Regions from separate parts of the Homo sapiens genome. Here region 2 is linked to region 1. The links are contacts of gene promoters, found by promoter capture Hi-C in human tissues and cell types (Jung and others, 2019). All regions are on one chromosome and are shown on one strand. Each heading gives the region's core, a stretch centred on a gene start or on the middle of the fragment in contact. The rest is flanking DNA. Distances are from core to core; before and after follow the strand shown.

The links. The method cuts DNA at HindIII sites, captures the fragments that hold promoters and counts their contacts. A contact is called where the count stands out against the background at its distance.
Region 2: a contact is called between a fragment that was not itself captured here and the fragment with the promoter of TDRD3 in region 1, in 1 of the 25 tissues and cell types used here (dorsolateral prefrontal cortex).

The regions. Positions count from the first base shown.
Region 1 is chr13:60,393,293-60,399,449 of GRCh38, reverse strand. It overlaps TDRD3 (tudor domain containing 3), which reads right to left and starts at 2,230. Exons shown (of 14, transcript NM_001146070.2): 1 at 2,045-2,230. The coding sequence starts at 2,085. RefSeq lists enhancers at 1,379-1,428, 2,309-2,508, 2,358-2,870, 2,579-2,908, 3,239-3,308 and a silencer at 1,599-2,168. The HindIII fragment of the contact is 4,558 bases long and covers 1,465-6,022 here.
Region 2 is chr13:61,416,959-61,423,115 of GRCh38, reverse strand. No RefSeq gene overlaps it. Among named protein-coding and RNA genes, the nearest start is that of PCDH20, 4.2 kb to the right of the region's middle. The HindIII fragment of the contact is 4,402 bases long and covers 1,785-6,157 here.

The DNA of each region.
Region 1 (6,157 bases), core at 981-3,480:
TTACATGAAACTCACAATTCCTAGAAAGATAGTGTTTTTAGCCCCGCAGATTACTACTGCCTTTATGAGTCACTGCCATACAGAAGCAGCACAGACAGGTGGGAGAAACATAAACAGTTAAGTTGCAATATAAAGTAGCAAATGCTACAATATAACATTGCTGAAGATTTATAACAATATAACGAAGCAGGGTGGGACTCTACCTAAGCTTCTGCAGAGGCCCTGCCCAGAGAATTCTGACTGGCAGGGGCATTCCAAGGTCAACTGTATTAGACTTTACAGAGAACCTACAATCTGGTGCATTTCTTGACAATCCAGATAAGGAGAAAAATAAGACTCACTTCCCTGCCCTGGAAAAGCATAAGAGGCCAGAGAAAACAAAGTCAACACGTGTTCGGGACCTAAAAAATGAGACTAATCTTTCCAAAGGAGGGGGGGTCATGTTGGAAAGCAGTAAAATACTGAGTTTGTAAATGAAAATATTACTAGTGTGAAGGATCAACGCTCAACCTAATGAGAAATGGGGAGAAAGGCAAATGAAAGAGGGATCCAAGATTATTCAGGACACCCTTGTGGGTAAAAAAACTGAAAGAAGAGATTCCTATTGAACAGAAACAAAACTGAAGACAGTGTTTTTAACTCTACAATCTTTTACGCCCATGCTGTTCTGCGAAAAAACTGTAACAACAATAACGCATAAGCGTTAAAGGAACCAGGCCCAGAGCCAGGCCCTCTGTGCTCAACATTCAACTCCACCACTTTCTAGCTATGTCATTTTGGGAAAGTTACTTAACAGCTCTTTGCCTCAGTCTCCTCACCTGTAAAATGGGGTGTATAATAACACAAGTGCCTTTAAAATCAGGAGGGGCTTCTTCAAAGCACAGTTGTGATTATATCCCTCTACTGATCAAAAACTTTATTCACAAAATCAAATCCACATCTTTCACGAACCATATAGATCTTGTGTAGGTTCTGCAAAACAATAAGCGCTTCCCTGTGTCATCTCCAGCAGCTCTGTGCTAGAAAGCCTTTTCCTTACCATCTTTCCAAGTCCACTTTAGGAAAGTAACTCTCCCTCCCATTCCACAGTGCACTCATCTGTTCCTCTGTACGTACGGTTTATCACTATTCCCCCTGGTTTTGTTTGGTCTTTTAATGCCTCACTCTTTCTCCTAAAGCAGTAATTGCAGAGAGCCGTTGCAAATCTTTTTCATCCCCGTTCCTACCCTTCATCCCAGAATGTGCCTGTGCAAGCCTGGGAAAAGCGTTACTGAATTAAACGGGATGATTACAACCGTAATGGCCGCAATTCCAGAAACTGCCTAATTTCGCATAATTTTGTATTGTTTTCAAATCCTGAAAATCTTGACACGAAAGGCCTCTTAAAATCAGAACACCATCCTTTCAAGAAAAGTTCTACCGAGCACCCCCACGAGTTGACATTGCGGTCATTCTTAGCTCCAGAAGTTGTGTGTGTGCCGCGGAAGGCAGATTCACACTGGTCCACACTGTACTTTGAAATAAGGGGTAAGAAGAGGCGGCTCCGGCCGCAGCGCGGGCTGTGCTCTGCTCTGCCCTCAACTTCCTATGGGCCCGCGGGCTCCGGCCGCGTTCGTCCCTCTCCGCCGCACTTCGTTCCCAGCCCTCGCCTCCCGATCCCGCTGCAGAAACACCCCCTCCCCGGAGAAGCCGCGCGGACGGCGCTGCAGGTCCTCCCCGGCGCTCCGGTCGGCCGGGGTCTGGGCCGCCACCCGCCCGGCTCGCGGCCCCCGGCCTCTCCCCAGGCCCGCCGCCCGCCGCCCGGGGCCCAGGCCCGCCGCCCGGGGCCCAGGCCGCCGCCGCCGCCGCCTCCAGGGGACCTAGGGGAACTCGCAGGGCTCCGCGTGGCGCCGGGGGCGGAGCCGGCCCGAAGGGCCCGGGGAGAGGCCGGGGGCGGACGACAGCCTCCGCCTACCCCGACACGCACCCCGCCGCCCCCAACCCAACCTCCCTGGGGCCCCGGCCCGCACCCGCGGCCCGGCAGCCGGCGGGACTCGCCACTTACCAACCCGCCTGGGACAACGCCGCGCCGGCCACCTGGGCCATGGTAGCTGCTTAGGCCGGGGGTGGTGGGGGGCTGGGGTGGGGGTGATGGGGAGGCCTCCTACTTGAGACCCCCCCCCTTAAAAAAAAAAAAAGAAAAGAAAAGAAAAAACTCCTCTGGTCGGCTCTGCAACTGGGCATGCTCAGTGCGGCCGGCGCTTCCGCGTGCGGGTTCCGCTCGCCGCGTTTTCTGAGCGGCCGTAGGGGCCGGCCTGGTGTGGGGCTCCCAGGCTGCGGAGCTCCGGGACCTGATCCACCAAACACCGGCTGGTGGCTGGAGTCAGGACGGTTCAGGGACTTTGCCTCTTCCCCGAAGGCTTTTACTTGTTTTGGGGGGCGCTTTTCTGAGTTGCACACCTTGGAAAGTCGCGAGGAGGTTCTTCGTAGAGCAAAAGTGTGGCGTTTGCAGCGCCCACAGGCGGCCACCTCAGAGAGGGCAGGATAAGGCCTGAGGAGACTGACGGGTTGGCTGCGAGGGAACGCGTCCAGGACCGCGCTAAAAAGGTCACGTTGCGGGCAGCAAAACTCAGAGGTGTCCCCAGCCCATTCTGCACAAAAGTTTACTTTCTTATAAACACTCGTTCCCTTCACCTCGCCTTTTGGTCCGCCCGGACGCAAAGAAAAAATGCAGCTCAAGCTTTTTTGAGTCCCCGCGGGCAGATCGAGTTGCCCCAGTCGGACACCACAGTGAAAATGCCCTGGTCAGCCCAAGAAAACCTGCTTTTAGGGGACATGGGGAAATGGGGCAGTTGTGTCAGTGCTTGTTTTTCCTGTTGCCCTCCCCCTGGGACCATCCGTGTCCTAGCGCGGCCCTGCCACCTTGGCTCTGTACTGCCAGATCTGGCAACCACAGCCGCTTCCCCGCCGATGCCCTTCGCCCGCGCTGTAGAGGGCTGGGGCGCAGGGTGGGTCCCTGAGTGGGCATGCGCGCCGCCGTCGCCCAGCGGCACGGCGGACGCTACCGCGCGATTGGGCGTCCGTGACTCACGCTGGCCAATCAGAGAGGAACAGGCGGAAGGGTACGCGGGCCCAAGAGGCGCTCCCTAAAAGTTTGCTCCACCTTCTTGGTCTTTCACCTCTGCGGCGTCCCGTATTGCGGGGAAAAAGGCTTCTAAGGGGCAGCGTCCCCATCTGCCAGGTCAGGGGAAGAAGACTGTTAGGAACTTAATCCCTATCTCCGCCGCTTGCCGCTGCCCCTGCTTCTAAGGGCATCATCAAAAACAGACTTGGAGCAGAGACTGCGGAACTGGGCAGAGGCGCTCTTGGGATTGGGGAGGAAATTGGCAGTTACGGAAGGAAGGGGATAATTGCCCTGGGTGGAGCTAAAATTCCTTAATACAGATTTTTCTCATTTCAGCTGGGGTATTCCGTTTGGTCTTCCCAAAAGTCATAGTTATAAAATCGCGATGCTTTCGTTAGATGGAATGCTATTGAGATTTGCTCCCAAGTATATTGTTTAGATAATTTTAGATCACAAGTAGCTCCATCCTGTTCGCTGCAATGTGCAGTAGTATGCAGTGTTTAAGTCATACGTATGCTACAGGTATATTTCAATTTATAGTCATCGGCCATCATATACAGGAGCCAGGAATAGATATGCCATTTTAAAGGTAAATAGATGACTCAAAAATAAATTGCCAATAATTTTTATTGGCGGTTAGAATTTTCTGTTACCAATTATTTACATTTTTCAGTTAGTGTAACCTGTTAACTATGAAAATATGTTGTACCAATCATCAGAATTTCTCACTGGTTATAAAGTCATTTGTTCTCACATGTCGTGTGATTCAGTAAGGATTTACCACTGCATGGTCCTTACAATAATAAAGTACTCCACAAAACACTAAATTCTCTTAAAGAATGGGTTTTTTACTGGAGAAATGTGGGACAACATGAGCATCCAAAAAATGGTGACAATAATTGATGAAACACATTGAATTTCTTCGGAGTGCCACCAAAAATGAAGGAGGACAAAATCTTTTCTTTCAGAGCAATACAAGATAGTAAATGTAGAACAAATGATAGAATTAGAAAAATCACAGTTTTCCAAGTCAACCACAATTGATAGAGGAAAATTTATCAGACGATACTAAAAGCCACAGGGTAAAAGACTAGGAGTACAGGATCTTCACATGGTCTCAAAGTTTCAAGCCATAACTTACTTATTACAGAAGGGAAAATGTAGCTTTACCTTTTAAAAAAAAAAATCACTGCCTTAAGAGATCAAAGCTAGAATCACTAATAATGGGACAATCTAATGTATTCTGCTTACTGATGTAATGCAACTAGACATACACATCACTTAAGAAGTATTCTTGCCAAAATGGTTTAACCTGAGTTTAACCAAGCTTGTGGACAGTGGATCCTAAACCAACCCCCACACCCCCAAATCCATTTAGCAATGTCTAGGTTGTCACAATCTGAGGAGGTAGGAGTGTTGTTATGCATCTCATGGGATGCAGCAGGAATGCTGCTAAATATCCTACAAAGCACAGGACATCGCTGAACTCCAAAGAATGATGTGGCCCAGAATGTCAGTAATGCTAAGGTCTAGATGTAAGAAGAAATGTAAAGGACGTATAGGTGATATTTGAGCAAGTTAAACATGAAGACGCAGGCACATAAATCCACAATGAGGCATATTCTCCTCTGGCCTAGACTGTTAAAATGTAATTTAAGACTTTTTTTTTTTTGAGACGGGAGTCTCGCTCTGCCGCCCAGGCTGGAGTGCAGTGGCACGATCTCGGCTCACTGCAACCTCGGCCTCCCGGTTCAAGCGATTCTCCTGCCTCAGCTTCCCGAGTAGCTGGGACTACAGGAGCCTGCTACCGCGCCTGGCTAATTTTTTGTATTTTTAGTAAAGACCGGGTTTCACCGTGTTTGCCAGGATGGTCTGGATCTTGTGACCTCGTGATCCGCACGCCTCGCCTCCCAAAGTGCTGGGATCACAGGCGTGAGCCACCTCGCCCGGCCAGAAATAATTCTTTAGAAAAAAAAAAAGAAGGCTGGGCGCAGGGGCTCACGCCTGTAATCCCAGCACTTTGGGAGGCCAAGGCGGGCGGATCACGAGATCGGGAGATCGAAACCATCCTGGCTAACACGGTGAAACCCCGACTCCACTAAAAATACCAAAAAAAAAAAAAATTAGCCGGGCGCGGTGGCAGGCTCCTGTAGTCCCAGTTACTCCGGAGGCTGAGGCAGGAGAATGGCGGGAACCCCGGAGGCCGAGCTGGCAGTGAGCCGAGATCGCGCCATTGCACTCCAGCCTAGGCGACAGAGCGAGACTCTGTCTCAAAAAAAAAAAAAATATTATTTCAGATTTAAGAGATGCAAGAGACATGAAAACAAAATTCAATCCTGGATCTAAAAAATAAATGAAAAAAATAATTACTGGTGGCCAATTGCAGAAATTTGAATCTGGACTGGATATTGGATAGTATAATGGAATATGGTTTTCTTAAATGTGATAATGTTATTGTCCTTAAATTGAGAATTTTATGTCAAAACATTTATGGATGAAGAAGAATTGGATCTACAAGTTATTTGCAAATGAGTAAGAGAAATACATTTGTAAAATATATAAAACATATAAACATTGATACATGTATATAGGTAAGAAAGAGAAAGGAGGCTGAGGCAGGAGAGTCGCTTGAACCCAGGCGGCGGAAGTTGCAGTGAGCCCAGATCGCGCCACTGCACTCCAGCCTGGCGACAGAGCGGGCCTCCGTCTCAAAAAAAAAAAGGAAAAAAGAGAAAGGAGGTAAATATGGCAAAATATTAAAAATGGGTGAATCAGTTGGAGGAGGGTCCACATGTTTATTTTTTTTCTCTAGGTTTGAAATTTTCCAAAATAAAAAGAAGCGTGGATTACACTAATTTCACATCAAAATTTTAAATTGGAATTATGTTCTGTATAGATAATTTAGTGCCATGAAAAATGGTAATAGCTAACTAGATAAAATGAATTTCCATTTTTAATTAGATAAATCATTGATTTACAGAAAATAGAAAGTCTACAATGAGCTGAAGTTGGGGGAAACCCTAAGGGTAGAAAAAAAAATTGTTAGGTCCAAGA
Region 2 (6,157 bases), core at 2,736-5,235, 1.0 Mb before region 1:
TCTTGAATCACCCTGGATCCAGAAATCCTACAGAAATGCTTAAATAGTCACAGTCACAGCTAGTAAGGATACCTGAGGTCTCTCAGCTTTATGACTGGTGTACATTATGTGTAAAACACCTTTTATAATCATTCTTGAATAGTTTAACAAGCTCTGGCAGGACTCTAATAGATTTGGATTTTTTTGGAGAAGTATTGAAATACAAAGTGGCAGTAATTGTGTTTTTTTTTTTTTAAGAAAGCACACCATGTACATCCACATTTAGAATAAGAATAGTTGCTCCTATATAGAATATATGCCATCCTGGCCAGACGTGGTGGCTCATGCCTGAAATCCTGCCACTTTGGGAGGCCGAGGCAGGAGAATCATTTGAGGTTAGACGTTCAAGAGAATATATGCCATGCTTATGGCACATTTTAAAAAGTTTTAATTCTTTTTATTTAAAGAAAAATACCATAAAAAATATTGTTTCCCATGGAAATCTCCAAATCTCTTTTTCCCTTCTAGCTTTTTTTGACCTTTGTCTACATGACTGTTAAATTGCACAAAATCTAAATTCTTATCTACATTTGTCTGACATTTTGAATTCTAAAAGAACATATGAATATTTAAAATAAGCTTTAATAAAATTTTTCATTAAAAACCAATTATTATTCATATTTCATTTAAATCTAGTTAATGCAGAATATATTTATTCATAAAGAGAAGGAATCCACAAAAAAACTGTTATTATATTCTAAATAAAGTTGATATCAACTGGACCAAATTTTAATATTATCTACAATTAAGAAATGGTGGGCCTTTAGGATATTTACAATTTCATTATCAAGAAGCACATTCTTTTCGCCAAGTAAATGTTTTATTGCCATATAATTCTAAATTGTTTATAAAAATTCTGTTACAAAACCCACATTCTTTTCTTGATAATTCAAATAATTTAGAAAAAACAGAGCACTCATTGTTTCAGAAGTATAGCTTATGTACATTTTTATGGAAGTTTATAATTGTTTAATTTTTTCCAGATGTTTGGTATTTTTGAAATGGTTATCTTACTATCAGATTATATGCATTATTTATAATGTGTACATATTCCTTATTCAACATATGTGCTTGCTTCAGTTAATATTAGAATATCGCCCATATTTGTTTTTAAAAGGCTCACCAACATTATAATAAACTAACTCAAATTTTCCTTGTTCCTCCTAACTTAGCCACTTCCAAAGCTGTGTGACCACAAGAACCTACTTAACCTCTAAAAGCCTTCTATTCCTCATCTGTAAAATGGGGTCATCATTAACTTGCAGAGACTTTGTGAATATTCAATGTAATGTCCACCACGCACTTGGTGAAAGTTAGGTGCTGAATATTGCTGGCTGTTAGCAGTAAATGAAATTGAGATCAGCAAACTCTACCTCCTTCTAAAGAGATATCAAGAAAGAAGTAGCTAGTGATCATAGCGTTTCATATTTTCGCCATGAAAATATTGACTACGTACATCATTGACAAAGTCTTTTACTGACCCTATGATACTCACTCAATGCCTTTATATATGCCACACATGCTGAGATTAGAACAGTCATGCAGTTTTTAACAATCGCACTTTAGGCTCACAGAGTCAGATAAAAAGAGATTTTATCAAGCCAGTCAAAAGATCTGTTGATCGGTATAAAAACATTACTTGAGCATAAATTTTCATTAAACTTTCCCATATGTAACACTTAAATTTGTGAGAATCAAAAATAGGTATCTGAAGAAATAGACGATCGGTCTCCTAAAACATAATTTAAAATTCTTTCTCTCCTTCAATAGATTTGTTTTGGCCCTGACCTAATTTCTATGCTAATTCAGAGGGTTTACGATTGCTTTATTCTTTGCACAGCCTGTATTTTTTCCTTCTTTCAAATCTCCCAGGGATGGACTCCAGGAAGTAAGGCATATGCATCATCAATAAACCACATTTAGTTAACTGTTCTTTATTCGGCAACTCCTGATCCACTTCGTGGAATTTTCTATGCCCTTCATTTCTTTCCCTCCTCAATCCCACCACCTTTCTTTTGATGATTTCGCTGCTCATTATCACCTCTACCAGAGGTGAGAAGGAAGAATGTGAAATTAAAATGAGTTGAAAATGACTTTTAAAATTTATTTTCAGGATAAGGAGGAAAAGTTGAAAATGTTAGCTAAAATTAGGCCTGGGGTTTTCTAATGACTTCACACAGTTATTTTTATCCCTGTTAAAGTGATGCTAATTGAGTTCTGAAATGAAAGGACCCTTCCATCCTATCTTATTCTTTCCTATTGGAATATATAGGGAAAGAGGAGAAATGTACAATCTATTTACACAAAGTTTTCTAAAACATAAAAAAGAGTCATCAGGACGGAATAATGCTTACAAAGGTCCCATGTATAAGTTGCACAGTACAGCAGTAAATGTTTTAGAATACAAGTTTTATAGTAAATTAGCTCATTTGGACCTTCTTCTTGCAAGTGTGTAAATGTATGTTTATTTACTGAATTAACTGTCCAGCTTTTTTAGCAAAAGGCCTCACTGCTGATTCCCTGTTAGTCTCACTATTAATTTCTGAATCGTGTAGGGAAATGAAGTAGGATTTTTTCAGTTTGTGTGATATACTTAAAAAATAATTAGTACTTCAGTAGTTACTTAAAAATATTTGTAAATATTTGTAAATTTGAACAATGAATAAAATAAAATAAAGTTTAGAGTAACTCTTAAAATCAAGGCTTTTGATCTTAACCGTAGATGGTTTAAAAAATATACTGTTTTTACAGGTTATCCTCTAATATCAGAGCAATTGTGAGGTTAAAATCTAGTACTATTATAAGAAATGGGAGTATTTTCATAATTTGAGTCAGCTATAAGTCATCTTTCTTACTGTCACCTAGCATGTAAAATGAGGGCTAACTAGGTGATCCCTAAAATTATCCAAAGCTTTTCAGTACTTTCAAGTATACACACAGCTATACACACATTATATATTTTACATGTATACATTGGGAGATTTAAGTTAGCCACACAGCTTAGACAAGTTATATCCATGTGTATGTATCTATTTACGAAGTAGTAATGGACTAAAGAATCCTTTCCTTCGAAAAGGCATCATATAACACATCTATGCCTCCAATTTTTTTTATTTTAAATGAGTGATAAATGTTTGTTGAATAGAAATACATTTAAATGTGTGTGGGCCCTTTATTTTCCCATTCTGATGAGAAAGGCATACCAGAGTAGAAAGATCACATATTTTGAAGGTCACAGATCAGGCTCTGGACTAGCATGTTATGTATGGCTATAAAGCTGGTATAATAATAACTATATTATAAAACTGCTGTGAGGATTAACTAAATTACATATGTCAACCACCTAGTAGCATGTTTGAAACATAATTGACACTAGGTAACCAATCTATCATTTCTCAGGTATTTTATTGGTTTTTCAAATGTAATCATCCTTTTAACCTTGATGATTGAATCAAAAAAGAATACAGATATAATATTTCATTGTATATATATTTATTATATGTTATATTTATATGTGGTATATTTTACACTTTTACATATGTACCTATATATTAATAATATATTTTGTGTACACATGTACATATATTTTAATTCATCAAAAGGGACTTCTAATTTTAAAAATTCTATTAAGACAAAGAGAAATGGCCTTAAAATAAGGTAATATTCTAAACTTATATTTATTTGCAATTATGAATTAACCAGAACATGTACACGGTTATGGTTCAAGATAGTTTTAAATATCTGTGTATATAGTGATTACATGAAACTTTGTGTATACCACAATATTATTAAACTAATCTAAATAGTGGAAATAGATTTAATTGAGAAATACAAATAAAACTACCTGTAAAGCATAGTGCTTCAAAAATTTTTTTTAAAGATTTAAAACGTAAAAAGTTTACAGATGGTATCTTTTTTCCTCATCTTTTTTTTTTTTGAGATGGAGTCTCGCTCGCTCAGTAGCCCAGGCTGGAGTGCAGTGGTGCGATCTCGGCTCACTGCAAGCTCTGCCTCCCGGGTTCACACCATTCTCGTGCCTCAGCCTCCAGAGTAGCTGGGACTACAGGCGCACGCTGCCACGCCCCGGCTAGTTTGTTTGTTTGTTTTTTGTATTTTTAGTAGAGATGGGGTTTCACCATGTTGCCCAGGCTGGTCTTGAACTCCTGAGCTCAGACCATCCGCCCACCTCAGCCTCCCAAAGTGCTAGGATTTCAGGCGTGAGCCACCGCGCCCAGGCAAAGATGGTATCTTGATATATACTTATAATCTTGCTCACATCTTTGTAGTGGAGATAATAAAATTACAAAAAGAAGGCTTGCAGTAAATGAAAAATAGTATGTTTTAGTGATAGAATGCAATAAGTAATAATCAAGTTAACCCGTGTATCAGCATGCAGTGTCTGTTAATGCCAGATATGAGGTAAGCAATTTCATGCATATACGTGCATGAAGTGTGTAGGGGTCTTTTTTTATGAAATTGAAACAGAGAAGTTTGATGACTTGTCTAAAGTCACACAGAACTTAGCAACAACCCAGAGAATGTAATCCACTCCTCTGGCTCAGCTCAGTGCACCGTCTATTGTATCCTGCTGTTTTCCTTGTCTATAGGAAAAATAGGCTTGGGAGGCATATAATCTAACTATTCTTCTAGATCGATTTTTACAAAACATGTGGGAAGCAGGCCCAGAGCAATTGAGACGTCTAAGAAGTTCATAAGTATTATTTTCAAGGGACTAATAGCATAGAAGCTTTCTGAGTCATCGTTAGAAATATGTGACACCAGAAGGTAGGTCGCAGGCTGGCATCATAAGGAATAAGAGTTTGGGAATGCTTTCACAAGGCCCAGAGAAGGGATACATGGGAAGAAAGATGTCTATTTAGTCCTTTTTATTTTATTTAAGCCCAATTAGGGTATAAACATTGTGTAAAACCTTTGGATTTTCAGAGAGGAAAGATAATAACAAGTAGTTCAGTGAATGGTTTGAAATGCGACGTGGAAGGTATTGTTCAATATTATGCCAAGATCTCCCAATCTTGATGACAAACTTCCATGCAGGGACTTTGCAATCACCGTAGTCACTTAAAGCAAATGTGGTTGTTAGTGTCGTTCCAAACATTATTTTCAAGATGTGTTCAATACTAGTGTTTCAACTTACATGAAGAACTTTTGCTATAATTCATGTTTATGGTTTTTAGAAACACTCTAGAGAATAATTATGGCCAAATGGGTATATTTAATTTCTTTTCAACTTAATAAAGGGAGGTGTGGTAATAACCCTTTCCACAGAGACCAGCTGGGTGATAGGGTCAGAAGACGAAGATTCTGCTGGTGTAGGCTGGGGGAAACACTTTAAAAAGGAAGTGCATCTGTACTACAAGCAACCACTGCAAAGTAGGGAAAGGGAGAGTAAGGGGCCAGGGAAAAGTAAAAACTTGAGATATAATTACAAAGAGAAAATGTCACTTCACCTGGACTATCATCATAAACAACAGCTCCTGTACAATGTCCTTATAACAAAGGAAAAATGAAGAAAATAGCTCCCTACGTTTCCACCAAAAAGGTGGATGATCTTAACTTGTTGCAGAGGGCATGAGCTGTGAGCGGATAAACAGCCCACTCTGCTGCTCTGTCTCTGGGGGAGAATTGTTGCAGACTGCAGGTTCTCTGACTGCTGACAGATTGCCTAACTCTGGCCGTGGGCCTCCAACTTCGGGAAGCTGTGGGTATTGTATAAAGATGTAAGTTAAACACGTTTCAGAAGCAGCTTGGTACTGATTTGGGGAGTCAAGTATGTTTCAACTACAGACCTCAAAGTAAATATTTACTAATATGGCAAAAGTTCAGCTGTAGGGCAGAACCAGCAGCTAAAAAGCACAAGGAGGGAGATCATGCTTCCCTGGCTGCAGCTTGTTTACCAACCTTCAACTCAGATGTGCATGTTCCTTTGAGTGTGTGTGTGGGGTGGGGAGGAGGTGGAGTGGGAGAGGGGTAGGGGGGTGAGGGGTGGGGTGATGGTGATTGGGGGCTGAGGTTTACCACTTCATCAGTGCTCCATTTTCACTGTAAAGGGTTTGAAGGAACTGATTTTACCAGCCAGGTTCAAATTGTATGCCAAATT